Regions from separate parts of the Homo sapiens genome. Here region 2 is linked to region 1. The links are contacts of gene promoters, found by promoter capture Hi-C in blood cells and fetal thymus (Javierre and others, 2016). All regions are on one chromosome and are shown on one strand. Each heading gives the region's core, a stretch centred on a gene start or on the middle of the fragment in contact. The rest is flanking DNA. Distances are from core to core; before and after follow the strand shown.

What was found. Contacts are between HindIII fragments. The CHiCAGO score rates a contact against its expected background, and 5 or more counts as called.
Region 2: a fragment that was not itself captured here is called in contact with the fragment with the promoter of CDC42EP4 in region 1 in 3 of 17 cell types (non-activated CD4 T cells, total CD8 T cells and fetal thymus); the score reaches 7.9 in non-activated CD4 T cells.

Annotation. Positions count from the first base shown.
Region 1 is chr17:73,309,964-73,313,836 of GRCh38, reverse strand. CDC42EP4 (CDC42 effector protein 4) reads left to right here and starts at 1,836. Exons shown (of 2, transcript NM_012121.5): 1 at 1,836-1,944. RefSeq lists silencers at 1,458-1,617, 1,688-1,947, 2,398-2,947, 2,958-3,087. The HindIII fragment of the contact is 11,652 bases long and covers 3-3,873 here.
Region 2 is chr17:72,722,941-72,727,183 of GRCh38, reverse strand. All of the region lies in intron 7 of SLC39A11 (solute carrier family 39 member 11), which reads left to right. Among named protein-coding and RNA genes, the nearest start is that of LINC00511, 85 kb to the right of the region's middle. RefSeq lists a silencer at 1,454-1,523 and an enhancer at 1,574-1,643. The HindIII fragment of the contact is 904 bases long and covers 1,911-2,814 here.

The DNA.
Region 1 (3,873 bases), core at 587-3,086:
CTTGGAAACCACAGAAGCTGCTTTCCTTTTGTTCCCAGATAGCTGCAGTTTCACAACCCTGTTGACACAGGGTTTCCTTTGCTCCCCTTAGACGTACTGAGTAGGAGACAATGCATCATTGACTTTTTCTTCTATTCCCTTTCACATGTAAAATGTAGACTTACAGACACTAAATCAGAGCCTCACACGCTTGTGACCTCAATGCCTTTCCTCCCTCTCTCCCTCTTCTTTTCCTTTCCTGCTTGCTTTTTCTCTTTTAAATACAGAAGTTCCCAAAACCTTTTTGGAAAAAAGGTGATTTTTCCCCGGTGGATCCTCAACCTTGGCTAACTAAACCTCTATTTGATTGAGATCTGCCTTAGTCACTTTTTGGTTTACATCCATGATAACCCCGCCAGGGTTTGAATCCACAGTGTCTGCCTCCCAAGTGGCTCCAAACCCTACCTTTCCCTCCAGATGTCCAGTTCAGAATTTGATTTTACTTATTATTCATTTATTTTTTTTTTTGAGATGGAGTCTACCTCTGTCACCCAGGCTAGAGTGCAATAGCGCGATCTCGGCTCACTGCAACCTCCACCTCCCAGGTTCAAGCGATTGTCCCGCCTCAGCCTCCTGGGTAGCTGGGATTACAGGCGCCCACCACCATGCCCGACTAATTTTTGTATTTTTGGTAGAGATGGGGTTTCGCCATGTTGGCCAGGCTGGTCTCAAACTTCTGACCTCAAGTGACCCCCCACCTGCCTTGGCCTCCCAAAATGCTAGGATTACAGGCATGAGCCACTGCGCCCAGCCCAGAACTTAATTTTCACAGCAGGATGGAGTGGCCAAACCATTAGCTCTCAAGAGCTGGTTGCTGTCGCACTGCAGAGGGAAACGGAAATGTGCTGTCCCCAGAAAGCAGAATGTTCCTGAGGGCTTAGGGACCTCGCAGCCATGGGGAAAGTCTGGGGCCTTCACCCTCACTTCCTTTAAAAACCGAGGGTGGGGTTCAGCTAGAGGCAAGGGAACTTTTCACTTTGCGCCTTGTCCACTTTAGTTGACTACTTCGCAGCTGGCATTCTACCTTGATAATGATCATTTCAACTGAAACTATTCCTCTAAAAAGAATAGAGTCCAAGGCCTGGGACTTGGATTCAGGCTCTGGGACTCAGGAGTTGATCCTCCTTGACGTTCACCTGGTGCAAATTTAGCCTCAGCTGATACTTAGGAGGCAAAGGCACAGACGGGGATGCGGGGAGCTCAAGGGCTGTCACCCTGTAGAAACATTTCTGACGCCCAGTCCAAGCCTGGCCTCGGGGCTGGCCGGCTCCTCCCCGCTCCCTCGTTTACAGCGAGAGTCTGGGATGGCACCCACGAAGCTGGTGGCGCCAGCCCTCCTGCCCCATCTCCCGACAGTACTGCAGCCAGGTGGTTAGCAGGTCCGGGAGGGAGCAGGAACGAGGAACGCCACCCGGGCTGGAGTTCTTGGTTTCTTGCCCCGGCTCGAATGGGGAAGAGCCTCAAAAGAGCCTCGCGCCAGGCCCCCGGAGGGAGACGCGCCCCTGGCCCTGGGGGCCCCAGTGGGGGTTCGCGGCCGGAGCGCAGGCTGGGGCGGGAGTGTCTCCCGGAAGCCGGGCGGGCCCAGGCTGCCCCATACGGAGTTGGGAAAGTCTCAGGCTTTCAGTTTGAACCGAGGAGGCCGAGCAGTCGGGCAGAGGTTCCCGACGGCCATTGGCTGCTGCGGCGCCGTGACATCAGCGCAGAGGGGTGCGCGGGGAGGGTTGCGCGGGGCGGGCGCGGGCGGAGCCTGGAAGGGGAGTGTCCTGGAGGCTCCCAGCCCTGAAAGCCCGAGAGCCAGAGGGAAACAAACGCCGGCGCTGACAGGGGCCGCCAGCCCCTCCGCCGCGCGGAGCCCACGAAGGGGACAGCGCAGCCGGCCCAGAGCTCGGGTCTCCGGGGACCGAGGTAGGCGACGGGCAACCGCCTCTGTCTGTGGTAGCCGCCTTCGCGCTGGGTGCCCTGGGTGGGCTTGGGGGTCTCGAGTCCCCCTGTGGGGCAGAGAGGATCGAAGCTGGGGATGCGAGGCCGCGGCGCGGGGAGAAGGGCGCGGAGCCCCCACTTCTCGGCGCTCGCGCTTTTCACCGCGCCCACCGCGGTGCCTGGGACCCTAAGCTGCGCACCTAGTGTCCTGGCAGAGCGGGATGTGTGGAGGAGGAGGTGGCAGGGAGCCGGGCGCAGCGTTGCCGGGACTCCATTTCCTCTCTCCACGCTGGAACTCCCGGCCCTGGCCAAGGGTGCCGCTGAGGGGGTTGGGGGCCGGTTTTAAAGGGCCTCCCCCTTCCCAGGAATGGGGTGTGTGTCGGTGTGGGCAGGAGCGCAGCAATCGGCGGCGCGCGGCCCGCGATCTCCGCGAGGGGGGCGTGTGTGCGCCCGGAGTTCTCCATGAATAAGAACCGAATTCTCCGCCTGTACGGGCAGAGGCGTGTACACATCTCGCTCTCGTACACACACTGCAGCACACGCCACCCAATGTCACCCGGCCGGGAAGCCAGAGGGAAGGAGCTGTCTGGAAGGGAATGGCCGAAGGAACAAATGGTCCTCCTTTCCCCTACTCCCGCCCCGCGAACCCTTCCCTCCCCCGCCAGGCTCCCGCCCCGCCCGCTCCCTCGGAAGCCCGGGAGGCCGAGGCGCCTCCTGGCGGGGTGCGGGGGGAGGGCAGTCGAGCCACCCGCCCCCTTGGAGCCGGGGAGACGGCCGCTCCTGGGCTAGTGCGCCCCGAGCTCAGCGCGCTCAGCGGGATCGCAGGCGGGAGCGGTCGGTTAATGATTTAATCGCCCGCTTGGGGCGGGTGCGCGCGGATCGGCCGTCCCTGGCCCCGCCCCCTCTCCGGAGCGCCCCCAGCCGGGGTTACAAAACTGCCCCCTGCCCCCGGCGCGTCCCCCAGGAGCCATCCTGCCCGCGGGGATCCCGTCAGCCGGTGAGTGCCCCGGCCGGGAGGGCTGGAGAGCTGGGCGGGAGCCGGGGCTGAGGCTGAGCCAGCTTCCTGGGAGAGGACTGAAGTGCGTGTGTGTGTGTGTGTGTGTGTGTGTGTGTGTGTGTGTGTGTGTGTGTGTGACTGGGGGAGGGGTGCTCGCTGCTAACTCAAACCAGGTTCCCTGTGTTTTCCCAGTGACTGCGGCCTCGGCTTTGGAAGTTTTCTTTTTCTCCCTGGGAGAATGGAGGGGAAATACAATGCCTTTTCTTTTCTCGTTGCCTCTGGAACTTCTCTCTCTCCACGACTCCCACCCCTTGCAATCTGACCGGCTCCCACATCCCTTACTGTGTGCCCGGTGCCCACTGTTTGCCCAGATAGCTGAGCAGCTGGATCCGGGTGGAGTCCTTGGGAGCCCCCGTCGCTGCGAAGCCCCCTGCCCTCCCCTGAGGGTCCAGGGTGCTGGAGGGAAAATCTCTCTCTCGTCCGAACCCCAGCAGCCATCTGTACCAGAGAAATGTCCCATCCAGCGAGTGTAAATAATGAGGGGCCGGTGACAGGGGCCTCCTGCAAGGCGACTTCTTTGGCAGTCTGGGTTTCCAATAACTCCCTCAGCCCCCGCCCGCTTCTGAGGCTAGGGTGGAGGAGGGACCACCAGCAGGGTGGACTGAATTTTAAGAGAACAAAGAACAGGCCACAAAGGAAGGGATTGCTGAGCTGCGGATTTCTGATTTCTCCCAGAAATCGGGAGTTGGCTGGGACTGAGCCAGGCCCTAAGAGAGCCCCTGGCAGCCCCAGGGGCTCCTGGGGCAATAACAGGGCATCCACCAGGATCTCCTGAGGCTCTATCTCTGCTGAGAAGCCAGTGCCTACTGAATGCGGGGGTGCCCTGCCGGTTCCTGCTCTCATCAACTGCCCTGTGT
Region 2 (4,243 bases), core at 1,113-3,612, 590 kb after region 1:
CAGGCATCATTCAAACCAGCAGGGAGAGTAAGACTGTTTATGCTTAAACACTCAGCTTCACATACCACTTCCTGTTTTAAGCTTTGACTAAGCACGCGTCAAGAGACGTTTGTAGTCTGTGGACCTGCCTTGACCTACAGGTGCAGCGGCCATCCCAGAGCAGGCTGTGCACAGCAGAGGAGGCTGGCTGCGAACTTTAGTGTGCCATGGATAGTCCACAAAACACATCCCCAAGATATGACCGGACCAGCTACTGCTAATCAACACCCAGACACTTGGTAAAGGAGGCATGGTTGATTAGTCTACATTTGGATGTAGTATAGCCCATTAAATTACACATGGAGGCATCAAAACCAATTTTAAGATATATGTTTGCCTCTCTGATCAAAGAGGAAAGATCGTAAGTCAGATAAATCCTTTCCCCTGGCTTATACATATATATGTTGATATATTAACAATTATTTAAGACAGCAGCCATTAGTTAACAAAGCAACCCTTTATTTAGAAAGAAAAGTGGCATATTTTGACATATTTTCCTGGTCATTCATCAACATTAGCTAGTAGATGAGCATGTCTGTATGTGTAAGATACGTTACATGTGTGTCTACCTGTCCAAGCAGCCCCTCTACTTTTGCTCCAGTAGATTGTGTGTGTGTGTGTTTGTGTGTGTGTGTAGACAGGATCTTGTTCTGTTGCTCAGGCCGCAGTGCAGTGGCACAATCATAGCTTGCTGCAGCCTTGACCTCCTGGGCTCAAATAATCCTCCCTCCTCAGCCTCCCAAGTAGCTGGGACTCCAGGTGTGCATCCTGTAGATTATTGAAAGCATGCTTGCAGGTTACCTGTAGAGAAGTTACAAAGGAGACTTCATTGTTGTGGCGGGGAGGAGTCTCGGAGAACTCACATGGAAACATTTTAATTATAGTTCACTCTAACATCTTTGAACAAGCAAGCTGTCTTCACTGGCTCCCTCCAAGCCTCCATGCAGCTGCTCTTGCAATGCCTAGACCTGCCCCAGGCAGCACTCAGTCTCCCAGACTCGTGGAGCATCCTAGGGAGACCCTTACTTCCTCAAAGTTGCTGATCTTAACCTCCTCCCTGCCTAGCAACTTGGGTCTCAGCATTCCCAGCCTGGTCTCCCTGGAGAGTGGCTTTTAGCCTGAGAATTGGAGACCCAGCCTGAGGACACTAAGGTACTTGTGGAGAAAATACTTTGACATCTTGATCCCACTGTCCCCACCCTTTCACAGCAGAAAAATGCCCCTCCCACCCTTGAGTCACTTCGGCACAATCCTGTTCTATTCTTTATCTGCAATCGCACATTGTGCTCTCAATTTTATTTTATGCAGGCAAGCTCTTCTCTTGAACCTATCACACTACCCTGTCTGGAATTCTAGAGTGATCTATTGGCAGCTCCTTCTCTTCAGTTTTCCTGGCTCATCCTGCCACACTACACAGCCTCACCTTACAAAGAGACAGTGGAATTTGAAAGTGCCGGCTGGCAGCGGTGGACAGACGGCGCCACCACGCGGTAGCTTGGTAGCATAGGTTGCTAGACACAGTACCAGAAGGAAAAAGTTTGACCAGGAAAGGTGACTGTGTGTCGCTATCCAAATCTATGTTCGGCTTGTACAGAAGGTGTATCTGCAGAAGGCTAAGGACCATATATGTAAGTTACATGTAACTTTGGACATGTCCAACTTTGCTTTGGATATTTTTCAAAATAGTAACATCCTTATATTCTGGCTGTTATACCCTGATTTTTCACCCCCCATTTAATTAAGCATTTATAAAGCTCGTTATTGTCTTATTTTCCCATGTTGGGAATAAAAGTATAGCTTTTATGTGACCCTACGTAGAGGGGTAGAAATGTGAAATGGGCCAATTAAAGTGTCAGAAGCTACTCCAAGCTTTTGATGGTCTACCCTAGCAGGGGAGCATAGAGGTGCGAAAAGTCCTCACTTCCAGACACCCAAAAATCAGTTCAGTTTTTCTTTTTGCCATTTGGAGGGGAGAGGGTGACATTTACTTTTCTAGTGACTTAAAAACATAATGTTATTTATTGCATGCGTTCTGGGAAGTGAAGAAAGTGGGCCAGGCCAAGGAAGTCCACCGGATGCATGGGCAAAGCCAGACCAGGATCAAACAGGTTCTCACCATCCTATGTAATTTGCCATCAAGTCATTCATCAGTCTGTCCATCCATCCATCCCTTCAATCCACAGAGATTCACTGAGCACAGGATTCATCTTTTTGGAGAGAGAGAACTTAGAATAGTTATTTCATCAACTGCAACTGGGAAAACAGGCTTGAATTTGTAGGACTGGTGGGCTGGACATGACTTTGAAAGATCATCTTGCCTCTTAAGTATTTTTTTTTTTTTTAGCAGTTGAGCTTTTGGAACAAGTTCCTAAGCGAACACTCTGGATGGAATAGATACCACCCTTTCCATGAAAGTTCCCCTCTGCACTTGGCAGAAAATCCCTGATCTAGCCCAAGTCTCTAATGTTATAAGTGAAGAAACTGAAGTCTCAGAGTGGAAAAGGAAGTCATCAGGGATGACTCAAGTCAGAGCTCCTGGTTCCTGAACCCTGGGGCTCTTTCCTCCCCTCTAAGAGCTGATCTGTCTGTAGCTGGTCATGTTTCCATTTCAGAGGGTGGAGGGAACATCCAGGATGTCTCAAAAGGTCTGCTTTCCTCATTGTCTCAGCTTCCCCTCTGAAGCTCACTCCCCCCCACCGCTTTCTTGATGTTTTTTCTCTTGTCCCATTTGAACTGCAAGAAGTGCCCCTCCCATTCTTGGACCACCTGGAAGCTTTTGAGCAAGCTTTTGGAAAATTATCTGTTTTGTGCATTGCAATAGAAAACTCAAATGAAAGGAGCCAGATGGGATTGAGGGCTGGGAAGCGAACAGGGAGAAATGAATCATCTTGGGCCTCATCTCCAGAGTCCTTGTCCAAACCTGGGCAATTCTTATCCCCCTCTGTCCCTCTCTTTCCTCTCCCCTTCTCCCTTCCCATGGCTTTTTATGATAATGCTTTTCAAGCTCCCAATAAGAGCAACGTTTTACAGAAAAAAAAAAATAAAAGGGACAGTGTTTTGCCAGTAAGATGTGTGTTCCCGTGTTAGCACCACTGATCGCCCAATAGTTGCACGTCTAAGATTTTTCTTTGACTGAGAAATCCTACCAGGGAAGAAGAACTACTCCTTGGAGACTTTGTCCTCCACATCCCCAGTTCTGTGCTGACAAATACAATCCCGTCGTTACCTGGAAACCTGGTGATTTTCCAGAACACGTGGAGGAGAATGAAGAACTTAATAGCCATTTGCCTGCAAAATATGCCATCATGGAGCCTGGTGCTTGTGAATCTCTGGGTTGAATTGGATAAACAGATGGACAGATGGGTGAATGATCTGATTACCTGCTAACCTGAGATTGCCCACAAGGTTCCATCTTGGTCTGGCTTCGTCTGTGTCTGGCAGACTTTTACGACCCACTTTCTTCACTCCCCAGGACTGATGGAACAAATAACATTATTCAACGGAAGTCATTCGAAAAGTAAATGTATCACCTCAAAAATGGCAAAAAGAAAAATCTAGTTGATTTTGGGGTGTTCTGAAGTTAGCACTCTTCACGCCTGTACTTTCTTCTCCTAGCACAGACAATCCACATGTAGGGTGATGGTTGTGTGTGTTTGGGGTTGGCCTCACTGGTATTACAAATCCAGTTACTGTCATCCATCTCTTCCTGCTACTACTTACTCTGAAAGATGGTTTTCCTTTGAAGGATGGAGAAATTCTCTAATCCAGACCTCCTGACAGCTAGGCTGCAAACACACACACACACACACACACACACACACACTCTTACACTCCTACAAAGACAAAGAAAATCCTGGGAGGGATTTTAAGACACGTGCTCATTTCAGCACTCTGTCCTCCTGGTGACATCTCTCTATGAAGCATCTGGGACTTCACCTGACAAGCACCTGACAACCTGACTGAGCACTCGGCCCTTACTGTATGTGCCTCAGTTTCTACGTGCATCATGTGAGAAAGGCAGATTGTATCCATGGCTATGAGACTGTTGGGCTTTGTTGGACAATGAAGACGTCCCCCAAATATGTAAAGACTGACAAACGACGGCCACCCTTTATATTTTTCAAAGTGAAGGCATTGAAGGAAAGATGCAATCGTAGACCGCCATGGTCAGTGAATTATTTTATGAGAGATCACCCTTCTAGAA